2 separate regions of the Homo sapiens genome follow, and region 2 is linked to region 1. The links are contacts of gene promoters, found by promoter capture Hi-C in human tissues and cell types (Jung and others, 2019). All regions are on one chromosome and are shown on one strand. Each heading gives the region's core, a stretch centred on a gene start or on the middle of the fragment in contact. The rest is flanking DNA. Distances are from core to core; before and after follow the strand shown.

Region 1 (6,330 bases), core at 2,313-4,812:
CACATGGGTCTCCCAGCTGTGCTTTGAAGTCACTGTCAAAAGTCCTGGGCACTGGAGAATTTCATGTGTCTGTTGCTAAGGCAAGATGCCAAATTCCACATTTGCCTCCAACAGGAACAAATGTCAGTTTCCACCAAGCCCCACCTTGTTCAGGTGACTCCTGTTGTGAGTCTTTTCATACCATCTCCCCTTCACCCACAAGTGCCACCAACAGGCAGAGGTGGGGAGCTGGGTTTGGAGATACTGGTCTGATCCTTAGGTGAACTCCTCTCCCCTGATGTTGCAGGAGAATGGGTGCTCAGATGGAGAATCAGCACTCTTCTCAGGATTGGAAGGTGCTGTGGCTGGGGGAGTCTGCATTATGTTCTGGGCTGTGAGCTTTTCCAGAATTCTGCTCCACAGGCACACATCTGCTGTGTATGTATTTCATGGTATAAATCAGATGTCCCTGAGTTCTCTAGTATTGAATGTCTATGTAAAAAGTGTCTAGCCCCAACTGAGGATGCTGGAAGTCTAGTCTGTTAGGAGGCCCCTGAATATGTGCTTGTCTTGTGTGACCTTCCAGGAGGTGACTCAGTTCTCTTTTGTTCTGTTTCTTGCTCTAGGCTATTGCTCCATTTTTTTGTAGGTCATCTCCTGCCACTTCTTCTCTAGGGTAATGCTGTTTGCAATACACAGTTCCTTGTCTTGGTTTCCCAAGCATCTTAGTTCTGAAAGTGAGATATGGGCTTGTCTGGGACGTGGGGGACAAAGATCAGGTGCCTCCACAAGTGACTCTCCTCAGCTCCCAGCCAGCTGACAACTGCATGGACTGATGGTCTCTTTCTTTCCTTATCTGCATGCTGGTTTCCAGGACTTTGCGCACCCTGAAGGAGCCTCATATGACCCAGTAGTTTCATTCCTAGGCAGCTTTTATATCTTTTATCATTTTTCTAAGCTTAAGACACCTTTGGTCAGCCACGGTGGCTCACGCCTGTAATCCCGGCACTTTGGGAGGCCAAGGCGGGCGAATCACCTGAGGTCAGGAGTTCGAGACCAGCCTGACCAACATGGAGAAACCCCCTGTCTACTAAAAATACAAAATTAGCTGAGCGTGGTGGTGCAGACCTGTAATCTCAGCTACTCCAGAGGCTAAGGCAGGAGAATCACTTGAACCCGGGAGGCAGAGGTTGCAGTGAGCTGAGATCTCGCCACTGCACTGCAGCCTGGCAACAAGAGAAAAACTCTGTCTTTAAAAAAAAAAAAAAAGACTCCTTTTCTTTCCTCATTAATTTGGCGGCCACGTCTGTCCGGAACTTGTGGGACGTCCTCGTCTTCATCAGGTTGGCAGATACTCCAGCATGGCCTGCCGGCCGCCGAGGCCACCATCCACAGGCTCAAGGGCTCCGTGGTCGCTCCTTCGTGCTCCCGCCTCCAGAGGGAGCCAGACAGTGCATCCTTGCAGTGGACGCCGCCCGCCCGCAAAAGCCTGTTTTTCAATGACTGCCTCTACCTCTGAACCTCAGCTTAGATTTCTCTCTCTCTCTCTCTCCCTCCCTCTCCCTCTCTCTCTCTCTCTCTCTCTCTCTCCCACCCCCACCTCCTCTTTTTAAGACAAAGTCTTGCTCTGTCACCCAGGCTGGAGTGCAGTGGCGCGATCTCGGCTCACGGCAAACTCCGCTTGCCGGGTTCAAGAGATTCTCCTGCCTCAGCCAAGCAGCTGGGAATACAGGCACCTGCCACCACGACCGGCTAATTTTTTTTTTGGAAGAAAATGACTTTATTCTAATTAACTCACAAAGAATAAAATCATAACAGCTAGTTTAAGGAGGCCACACAAACATTTGCCCTGTCACAGATTCTACAGAGTAGGAACACCCCCCTTCCATTTCAATTCTGAAGCAAGGAAGCTAGGAATGACAGGAGAGGTTTAACTCATGGTTACACTTTATACCCTCACTATCAATTCTATTTTTATACTAAATTAACTTAGTTATGAGAGCTGATTTTCCATCTCTCCAGGTTGAACTTCTTGATTAGGCCAATCCGTTTGCAAGTCGGCACTGTTTCAGCACCTCATTGAAACCCTCACAGAGCTTGATGTCACCCTGGTTCTGGGCACACTCCAGAAACTGATCTCATAGAAGCAAGGCTGCTGCTGCTGTGCCGGCTGGGTTCCCTGAGGCTCCTGGTAAGTGATGTCAGGCCTCGCAGGCTCAGCATTACTTCCTCCCCTGAAAGCCCCAGTAATGGCGTGACCCACAGCAGAGCCCACAGCCACGCCAGCTGCAGTGGTTGCCATCTGGGCCATCAGACCTGGCTGCCGGGGCGCAGCAGCAGAAGAGCCAACTACAGATGGGGGTGCCGCTGCTGGTGGCTGAACGACTGGTACTGGCCTGGGTGCAGCTCTCATCTGAGGGGGCCTGGCTGGCCGGAGGGGCCATGCGGGAGGTGCGGCTTCGGCTTCCACGCGGCATCCTAGGTACGCGACGGCTCGGCCTCCGGACGTGTGACGACCGGCTAAATTTTGTATTTTAGTGGAGATGGGGTTTCACCATGTTGGCCAGGCTGGTCTCAAACTTCTGACCTCAGGTGATCCACCCACCTTGGCCTCCCAAAGTGCTGGGTTAACAGGCGTGAGCCACCGCACCTGGCCCGATCTACCCTTCTCTTACAGGATTCCTAGAGACTTAATATTTTGGTTTTGGTTTGTTTCTTTTTTGAGACAGGGTCTCCACTCCGTCGCCCAGGCTGGAGTGCAGTGGTCACTGTAGCCTGGATCTCCCAGGCTCACGGGATCCTCCCACCTGACGGCCTCCCGGCCTCCTGAGTAGCTGGGACTACAGGTACGCACCACCACACCCGCTACTTTTTAATTATTTTTTTTTTTTGAGACGGAGACTCGTTCTGTTGCCCAGGCTGGAGTGCAGTGGCACGATCTTGGCTCACTGCAAGCTCCGCCTCCCGGGTTCACGCCATTCTGCCTCAGCCTCCTGCGCAGCTGGGACTACAGGCACCCGCCACCACGCCCGGCTAATTTCTTGTATTTTTAGTAGAGAAGGGTTTTCACTGTGTTAGCCAGGATGGTCTCAATCTCCTGACCTCGTGATCCACCCGCCTCGGCCACCTAAAGTGCTGGGATTACAGGCGTGAGCCACCGCGCCCAGCCCTACTTTTTAAATTTTTTGTAGAGCGGGGTCTCACTATGTTGGCCATGCTGGTCTCGAATTCCTGGCCTCAAGCGATCCTCCCGCCTTGGCCTCCCAAAAGCTGGGATTACAGGTGTGAAACCCCGCGCCGGTCTGAACCTCAATGTTTGAACCACCAAATTTTACCTGTATTGACACAGGCCCCGTCTTGTTGTTTTTCTAAATCTCATGTCATTGTTTGCATATTGGTTACCCGTGGTTGGCTTTGGAGCTGAAGGTGGACAGAGCTAACATCAGGTTGCACACAGGAACACAGTGAGGTCGCGAAAAAGTAGCGCGAGCTGCCTCCATGGCCCAGGGCGACCTCACCGGCGTTTCCTGTCTGGGACTGCGCCCACGCGGTCACGTGGTGGCCCGGAGGACGCGCGGCGGCAGCGGCGCACGCGCACGGAGAGGAGGCTACTTGCCAGGTGAGCGAGCTGAGTGGGGCGCCGGGGCGGTAGGAGGGTGCTGTTCGCTGAGCTGGAGTCCGGGCTCCGGTCCCCGCCACGGACCTTGAGAGGGTACCCGGGGTCAGACCTGGCAGGTGGGAACCGGGAGTGGGGAGGACCCAGGGCAGGGGCGGGATGCGCAGATTCGTGGAAACTCTGCAGGTTGTGGACAAACTGCCCAAATCCTTTTCCCTGAATGCCAGTTTAATGGCCTCGTCTGATAAGAAAAAAATAAGAAATAGATTTCAGAGACCCTATTTCTCTCTCTGCCTCTCCACCTGCTTTACTTTTTTTCTCTTCTGTTAATTTTGAGCCTTATAAAACTATAGCGCCAGTATCCTGGTTTGGATCCTGAAACAGAAAAAGACATTAGTGGAAAAAATAATAAAGGCTGTGGTTTAGTTAATAGCACGTACCCATGTTAATTTCTTAATTTCGACAAATTGTACACAAATGTTGACATTAGAGGAATTTGGGTAAAAGGTACACAGGAATTCTTAGTACTATCTTTGCAATTTACTGTACATCTAAAATTATTCTAAAATGAAAAGTTAAGAAACAAAATCCTAAAGCAAAGTGCAGCAGGCCATTGTTCACCAGGGAGGGCTCAAGTTAGTTCCTCTTTGTCATGGAGTTAGGCATGTTTGACCAACTTGTTTGCTAAGGCAGAGTTGTCAGGCTACTGAATGTAGATTCTTCTGTCCAAAGGTTTCCGGGCAGGAATCGGTTTTCTCTTTCGATTCTGTCAAATATCTTTGGAACACATGTTGTGCATAAGCAAACGAGACACACAAAGTCTCTGCATAAGGGAATATACAGTCAGTCTAGGTCAGGTAGGAAGTAAGCACTATTAAAAAGATTCAGTAAAACCTCCCAGAACTGGGAAGACTCAGATGTGGAAGAAATCACATCTGGTCCAAGGGAGTCAGGAAGGCTACTGGAGGGAGTGCTGTCCTGAACTGAGGGGGCTCTGAGAAGAAACAGCATTCCTGGGGTGAAGAATGGCACCAATAGAGGCTTGCAGGTGACCAAGCTGAGCTGAGGGAGGAGCCCTGGGAGCAAGTGCAGTTCCTCTTACGTGGAAGCGCAGAGTACATCCAGGGAGTACTGCCAGATGAAACTGGAGGTGAAAACTGTAGCTTTGTTGTAGAAAACAGGGTGACACTTCAGTTGGATACATTATTTTTATTTTTATTTTTTTGAAACGGAGTTTCGGCTGGGCGCAGTGGCTCACGCCTGTAATTCCAGCACTTTGGGAGACCGGTGAGCAGATCTCCTGAGGTCTGGAGGTCTAGACCAGCCTGGCCAACATGGTGAAACCCCGTCTCTACAAAAATACAAATATTAGCCGGGCATGGTGGTGGGCGCCTGTAATCTCCGCTACTGGGGAGGCTGAGGCAGGAGAATCGCTTGAACCCAGGAGGTCTAGGTTGCAGTGAGCCGAGATCGCACCATTGCACTCCAGCGTGGGTGACAGACAATAGTGCTGTCTCAGCTCACTGGAACCTCCACCTCCCAAGTTCAAGCGATTCTCCTGCTTAGCCTCCCAAGTAGTTGGGATTAAAGGCGCCCGCCACCATACCTGGCTAATTTTTGTATTTTTAGTAGAGACGGGGTTTCACCATGTTGGCCAGGCTGGTCACAAACTCCTGACCTCAGGTGATCTGCCCGCCTCAGCCTCCCAAAGTGCTCGGATTACATGTGTGAGCCACTGTGCCCAGCCTACATTTTTTTTAAAAAGGAAAACAGGGTGACATTGACTACAATTATACATGCCATGGGAGCCATGGAATGTTTTACAGCAAGAGAGAGACATCATTCGGTTTGCACTTGGATATTATTGACTTGGCAGCAGTATGTAGGTTGGCTTGAAGTAGACCAATTAGGAAATTATCAGGCTAGCCTTGGGGAATTAAAGAGACGTTCCACCAGGGCAGTGAAATTAATGTGCAAAGAATGACATAGTTTGGGGAGATTTTTTTGGGTCTAGAAGACCTAGCAACTGAAGGCATGTGAAGACCAAAGAGGAAAAAACAATTCCAAAGTTTTGCTCCTGAGTGTTTTGGAGCATAGTTGATGCATTTGCAGAAATAGAGGACTCAGAGGGAGACCTGGAATGGGGGCTGGGAGGATAGTGAATTTTTTTTTTTTAGATGGAGTCTTGCTCTGTCACCCAGGCTGGAGTGCAGTGGTGCAATCTCGGCTCACTGCAATGTCTGCCTCCCGGGTTCAAGCGATTCTCCTGCCTCAGCCTCCCGAGTAGCTGGGACTACAGGTGCACACCACCGTGCCCAGCTAATTTTTGTATTTTTAGCAGAGACAGGGTTTCACTATGTTGGCCAGGCTGGTCTCGAACTCCTGACCTCATGATCCGCCCGCCTCAGCCTCCAAAGTGCTGGGATTACAGGCATGAGCCACCGTGCCCGGCGGTGAATTTGTTTTTGAGCAAGATGTGCTTGGATTGCTGGTGGAATATCCAGTTGGAGATGTGTATTTAAGATTAGTAAAAGAAGCCAAACATTTACAAAAGGGACAGGAAAAAGAAAAAGAGCCTTAGAGGACAGATATGAGAAGATATGAGTCAGGGAAGGAGGAGGATCAGATTTCTATTTCTAGGGGCTTCAGGAGTCAGGTGGACCTGGACTTAGTGAGTCAGTAGTGTCACAGCTCCTGCAAAGGTAGAGGAGACTGAGGAATGAAACTTGATCTTG
Region 2 (6,330 bases), core at 2,745-5,244, 300 kb after region 1:
TTTTTAAAAAAAATTTTAATTTTTTTTTTTTTTTTTTTTTGAGATGGAGTCTTGCTCTGTCTCCCAGGCTGGAGTGCAGTGGCAATCTCGGCTCACTGCAACCTCTGCCTCCTGTGTTCAAGTGATCTTCCCACCTCAGCCTCCTGAGTAGCTGGGATGACAGGCATGTGCCACCACATCTGGCTAATTTTGTTTTGTTTTGTTTTGTTTTGTATTTTCAGTAGAGGCATGGTTTCACCATGTTGGCCAGGCTGGTCTCGAACTCCAGACCTCAACCAATCTGCCTGCCTGGGCCTTCCAAAGTGCTGGGATTACAGGTGTGAGCCACCGCGTCCAGCCAAAACTGCTTTTCAGTGTGTGGGCAGATAGGACATTGTTTCTCTTCCCTTTAGGTGTTTATACTGTGCTGTCCCTGGGGATTAATGTTTGTCATTAGGAGGGGTGTGTGACGGAGCAAGAGATCTAGCAGTTTCCTAGCAGAATGAAGAGGCCCATCTACTCCTCTTACTAGCAGGGAGGCAAGTGATGAGGCCCAGAGATTTGAGGGTCCAAGTTAAGCATTTGCAGGTCCTTGTTTTTCTTCAGTTTAGAATGGAGATTGGTCCATTGCTCAATCCTTGATCTGATGCTCTGAGGCTGGGGCTGTGGGGATTAAGAGATGCAGGGGCTAAAAGCCAGCTGAGTCTTCACAGTTTGTCAAATATAAAGATAAATTGTTTTGAGAATAAAGCTTTATCCTAAAAAGAAAGCAAATCACTAAAGTTTTGTAGCTCATGAGGTTAGAGAAAGGGTCCTTAGCAACTAGTTAGATACTTAAAATGTGGCAAGGTGGTACAGGTAATTGCATTTAGATGTGTAAAAATTAGATTTGTAAGTTTCCAGAGAGGAACTATTGGAAATGGCTCTGTTGGAGATGGGCTAAATTAATTATGGTAAATCCATTTAATGGAATAGTATGTGGCTGTTAAAAGAATGCAATAGTTAAAAGAATACAATAATATTGGGGCTGTTAAAAGAATGCAACAGTTAAAAGAATACAACAATTCCAATGTACAGATATGGAATTCTTTCCAAGAAATTAATAAATAAAAAAAGCAAGGTAAGAAACAGTGAGTAAGTGTCTTAGGCTGAGATCTCTGGAAGCAAAGACTGAGACAGGGATTCTTGTGTTTTTAGGAGAGGTTGCTCCCAGGAGATGGGGTGGGAACAGCATAGAGTAGTGGATAAAAGGTAAGCAAGAGATGATCTCAGTGGATATCAGTGTTAGCCTGATCCCACAGGGAGTTCTGGAGCATGAATTGCACCATAAAGCTGTCCAACCTTTTATACCCCTGTGCTGGCTACAATGTGCCGCAGGATGGAGAATTCTCTATAGAAGGGGGCAACTGTGAACCATTAGCTGCTAACACTCATAGCAGCCAAGAGATGGGTGCACTGGCTTCTTCAGGGGATCTAGGCCGAGCTACAGCAGCACCCCCTGCAGATGGCGTACTGCAGGAAGGATACTGTACTATATATGCTTGTACATGCATGGGAATCTAAGAGTAGATGCTCTTATCCTGGAGTCCATGGATCCCTAAGGGATTCACAGATAGAACAGTATTACAGGCAAATTGGTTTCTTTTGTAATCCTCTGCACTTTAGCTTACATATTTTCAAACATTGTTCTGAGAGGGGGATCCATAAGCTTTATCAGATACTGAAGTGGTCTGTGGTACACACACAAAAATGAAGAGAACAAGAAAGTGGTAACAGTGTTTGCCTTGGGTGGGGGATGAATTCTAGGGGTCTGGAGTCAGGAGTGGGAAAGAGATTCCTATTCTTTGTATATCCTTTTGTGCTATTGGGATTTTTGCTGTGTGCATGGATTACATTCTAAAAAGATTAAAACATAAGAAAATGTATTTTTAAAAACTACCTCCCCACATTTTTTTTTTTAAAGAGACAGAATCTTGCTCTGTCACCCAGGCTGGAGTGCAGTGGTGTGATCGTGGCTCACTGCAGCCTTGAACTCCTGGGCTCAAGCCATCCTCCTGCCTCAGCCTCCTGAGTAGCTGGGACCACAGGTGTGTGCCACCACATCTGGCTAATTTTTAAATTTTTTGTAGAGATGGGGTTTCACTATGTTGTCCAGGCTGGTCTTGAACTCCTGGCCTTAAGCGATTGTCTTGCCTCAGTTTCCTAAAATGTTGGGATTACAACTATGAGCCACTGTACCCAACCCTATTTTTCCTGGATTTTCTCTTCACTCTTACTTCCTACGTTGCCTTTTCTGTTTTATACAATTTCTGCAATTGCTTGTCTTCCTCTTCCTAAAGTCTCTTCCTATCTCTAATGCTTGCATTTGATTTTAAAGCTGTTCTGGCACACTTGAATAGAATCCTGCATAATAATCTTTCACTAATTTTTCCCCCGACTCCTTATCAAATGTTCACTAAAGTGTATAGTTATTTCTTAGCATATATGCACATACTTGCAAAATAGACCACTATAATCTGCACAATTCTTCTTAAATTCAGCTTTTAAAACATGCCTTTAAATGAAGAAAATATTTGTATAATGAGAATAAATTTTGAAGGTTGTTTCACATTCAAGATTCTTTGAGGTTTTTAACCAGAACAGGTTTGGGGACAACAACTGATGCCTCCTTTAATCACAATACATTTTTAAAAAGTTGAGATTTACTAAAATCTACCTTTCAGGATTTTAAAATGGATGTGCAATCTCCACCACTTTTATTGCCAAGGGAGCACGCATCTGCCCTGGAAAACCTTCCTGTGGAGCGATGTCAGCAGAGATAAATGAATGAGAGTACATGCAGTTCTGGAATAATAGTGCAATTTGGCTAAAGGGTGACATCATCTTTTCACTGTTGTATGTGCCATTCTAAGTAGCAATAAGTCCAGCTGAGCTAGAGAATGAATTATAAGGAAAGTACATTGGCAAGGTGGAATAAAATATAAAAAATTGAAAAAGAAGGTAGCTTTGAATAGATCCAGTCCGCAATATATTTTTTGATATGGAAGGTCTTGATTTAATCACCACATCATAATTTGCCATTATTTTGGATTATGTGGAAAGATGCAAAGCTTCTTTCCTAATGGCTGGTTTGCTATATATACACATGTGTACCACCAGAGTATAAATAGGGACGTTGGAATTGATTTTAGTCTTTAAAGTGTACACTTAAATGCTGGAAAATAAAATGCCTTTATCAGTTAAATCTCCTTACTGTGATTCTACATGCCTCATTGGTAACACTTGAAGAAGGGTTTGCTGGGTTTTATTTGGATCGAGAAAAGAATGCCATCATCCTTCATGCTGATGAACCCAGGGGAGGATCAGTTTGTGATTCTGCATGGGTTCTTGAGGGGTCGGCCAGTATTAACTCATTGCTTTTTTTCTCTTTAAGTAACAGCTTTATTGAGATTGGATTAACATCCCAATATATTGCTTCTGTTCTCTAATTTTTTAGAGTGCAACTCAAACCCCTAATATCTCCTTGTCTTCTAATTCCTCAGGCAACAGATGACTTTCTGCAAAGGCACTGATAATAGCTATGAGGAATAAATATTGCAGATGGATTAAATCAAAGAATCAAATTTCAAAGCCAAATTAGTCGTGAAAAGGAGGGAGAAGCAGAAATGAAGAAAAAAGAACCACAGAAGTAAAATCAGCAGCATTGAAAAGAAAATCATCTGCTGTTTGAATAAAGACCCAAGATCTTTCATTGTTGGATCCCCAAAGCCAGTGCCTTTTTTGAGCAGCAAGTCCCAAGATCAAGAAATCAGAAGGAACTAATACTTTAACTAATTAGTAGTAATGAAAATTTACTAGACATCAATGACAAATTTACAAGGCAAATTTATTTCCAAAGTACATTCATATATATCACAGGTAAAATGAGGTTTTCACAAACACCATTTTAAACATAGGGTTTATTTGCAGGAGCTATTTTTGTGGCTTAGGGAACAAATGGTTCATTGAAACAGAACTTTGCTGGTCTGGTTTCAAAGAATTCTATTATATAAAAGATTCTGTAGAACAGATGGGATCAAAAGTCCCTGAACACAGAACAGGAATATCAGGTAATGAAAATGTTCTTTTGGTATAGTATTATGTTTTATGCTTTGAAAGTATTAGTATGCAAGGAACTCAGGCAAGAGCATAAAAGAGGAAGTAGGAATAATACTTTATGTTTGAATAGGCTTTAGACTTTCCAAAATACTTACATCCTACTGAAGCTTGGTAGCAAGTATTATCCTTGTTTTATTGATGAAAAACATGCTTCCAAGAAAGATGCATTACAAGCGACAGAAAACTCAAAGTGGATTACACAGTAAAAGGTATCTGTCTCTCTGTCTGTCTCTGTCTCTGTGTTTTGGCTCACAGAATTGAAAAGTTCAGGACTAGAGTGAGCTTTCAATGTGCCTTGAAAGAGATGTTCGATTGATACCATCAGGGCCCAGATTCCCTTGACATCTCTTAGTTCTGTTTTCCTAGTATGTGGTTAACTCTGATTAGCCAGGATGGAGACAATAACTCCTGAGCTAAATATGTGGAGTGGGGCAAGGATGGCCCTCTACAGGCGAAGGTGGGGGTGCATTTTAATATGAGTATGGGGGAAAGGATCAGATCTGGGCTAGATCTGATATTCAAGAGGTGTAAACAGATGACCAACAAGATGTTAACAAGATGACACGATTAGAAAGATTTTAATCAAGCCTAGAACCCAGCTCCTCTGAATCCTGGCAAAACATAGGTAGGAACAAAACTGGGAAACAAGACAAGGGATGTCCCAGGAGCTGATGTTTCAGTAAGAGCATAGTTGAGAAGAGACAGAAGAAAACAATAGTTAACAGAGGTAGGTGGATTTAGAAAGAAGGCTTTACTTTGAACAAGACTTGATCCCAGTTGAGACTTTGCTGAAGGAATCCCTAATAGACAGACCTGAGCCACCTCCTTCCTTTGTCATATATATGTATCTCATAGGCATCTTACAAATATGATGACTGCTCTATAAATAACCGAGAAATCTTAGTTTCTGGATCTTACCCTGGCCCAACTCCAAATTATCTTCTTTGGTTTTAGCTGGATCTTTAGGAAGACTGGTCTGCCTAATTTTGTTGCATCTCATTGTGCCCTATTTGCCAGGCCGCTTTGATAAGGAGATCTTCATATAATTCCTTTCTGTGTTGCTGCCCTGTCTTCCATGTTTAGAGTTCGAATCCTCCTTTTCTAATAGCTGAAACACACCCAGATCAAAATAAGCTTCATTAAGGCGGCATTCTACAAAGACAGTGGTTCTCCAATGGTGGTCCTCAGATTACCTGCATTTTTTTTGATGCCTTGTGGAAATAGAAAAACACCCAAACATCACCTGTTTCTTGAAGTTTGGTGGAACTCATTGAATACAACTCTCTTAGGCCAGATGCCACTTTAGAAATTATGTCATTGATTACATTTTCAACTTTTTTTTTTTTTTTTTTTTTTACAGTGCTTGATCTATTCACATTTTCACCTAATAGGTTTATTTAACTCAGGACTTTATGGGGTTGAGAAAAGCACTTTATTATGAGAAGAATATGTAGGTTATTTAACAGAGTCACCTGCAGCAGTCAATATACAATAAACTATAATGATACACAGTAGTTCTAAGGTCAGCCTTGCTATTCATATTATTTTCCAGGATCACTTCACTGAGGAACTGAACACGAGCATTTAACTTGTGTGACTAGTTATGGCCTGGTCTGGATTTCCTTCTGTAGGTATTGTCTTGTTCTTGTCTCAGCCTTTTCTTGCTTCCAAGGCCTTACTCATAAATTCTAATCTTTGCTTATGCAGTCTTTAAGTATTGTGTTTTCCTCTATTGATTTCATGGAAGGCTTCCCTCTAATGTAGCATACATTGGCCCTGCCTGTGCAAAGCTTCTTTTCTCTCCAACAAGCAGGAGACTTGTGTCTTTAGCTCTTTTTCTGCAAGAGCTGCACTCTCCCGTTCTCTTGTGGCCATGGCAGATGATTTCTCGTCACCTCCTCCCTCTCCGCCAACTTCCTTTCCTCCATCCAATTTCTTTTATGACAGGAGTTCCTCTTGGTTGAAGTTAACATTAAAACAGTTAACTTTGTTTTTTTTTTGAGATGGAGTTTGACTCTTGTTGCCCAGGCTGGAGTGCAATGGTGTGATCTCGGCTCACTGCAACCTCTGCCTCCCGGATTCAAGTGAATCTCCTGCCTCAGCCTCCCAAGTAGCTGGGATTACAGGCATGTGCCACCATGCCTGGCTAATTTTGTATTTTAAGTAGAGACAGGGTTTCTCCATGTTGGTCAG

The links. The method cuts DNA at HindIII sites, captures the fragments that hold promoters and counts their contacts. A contact is called where the count stands out against the background at its distance.
Region 2: a fragment that was not itself captured here is called in contact with the fragment with the promoter of CCDC125 in region 1 in 1 of the 25 tissues and cell types used here (dorsolateral prefrontal cortex).

What each region holds. Positions count from the first base shown.
Region 1 is chr5:69,330,033-69,336,362 of GRCh38, reverse strand. CCDC125 (coiled-coil domain containing 125) reads left to right here and starts at 3,562. Exons shown (of 12, transcript NM_176816.5): 1 at 3,562-3,714. It also overlaps the pseudogene CHCHD2P2. RefSeq lists a silencer at 27-321. The HindIII fragment of the contact is 34,363 bases long and covers 1-6,330 here.
Region 2 is chr5:69,027,355-69,033,684 of GRCh38, reverse strand. It overlaps LINC02198 (long intergenic non-protein coding RNA 2198), which reads left to right and starts at 3,758. Exons shown (of 4, transcript NR_130778.1): 1 at 3,758-3,897. The HindIII fragment of the contact is 3,211 bases long and covers 2,389-5,599 here.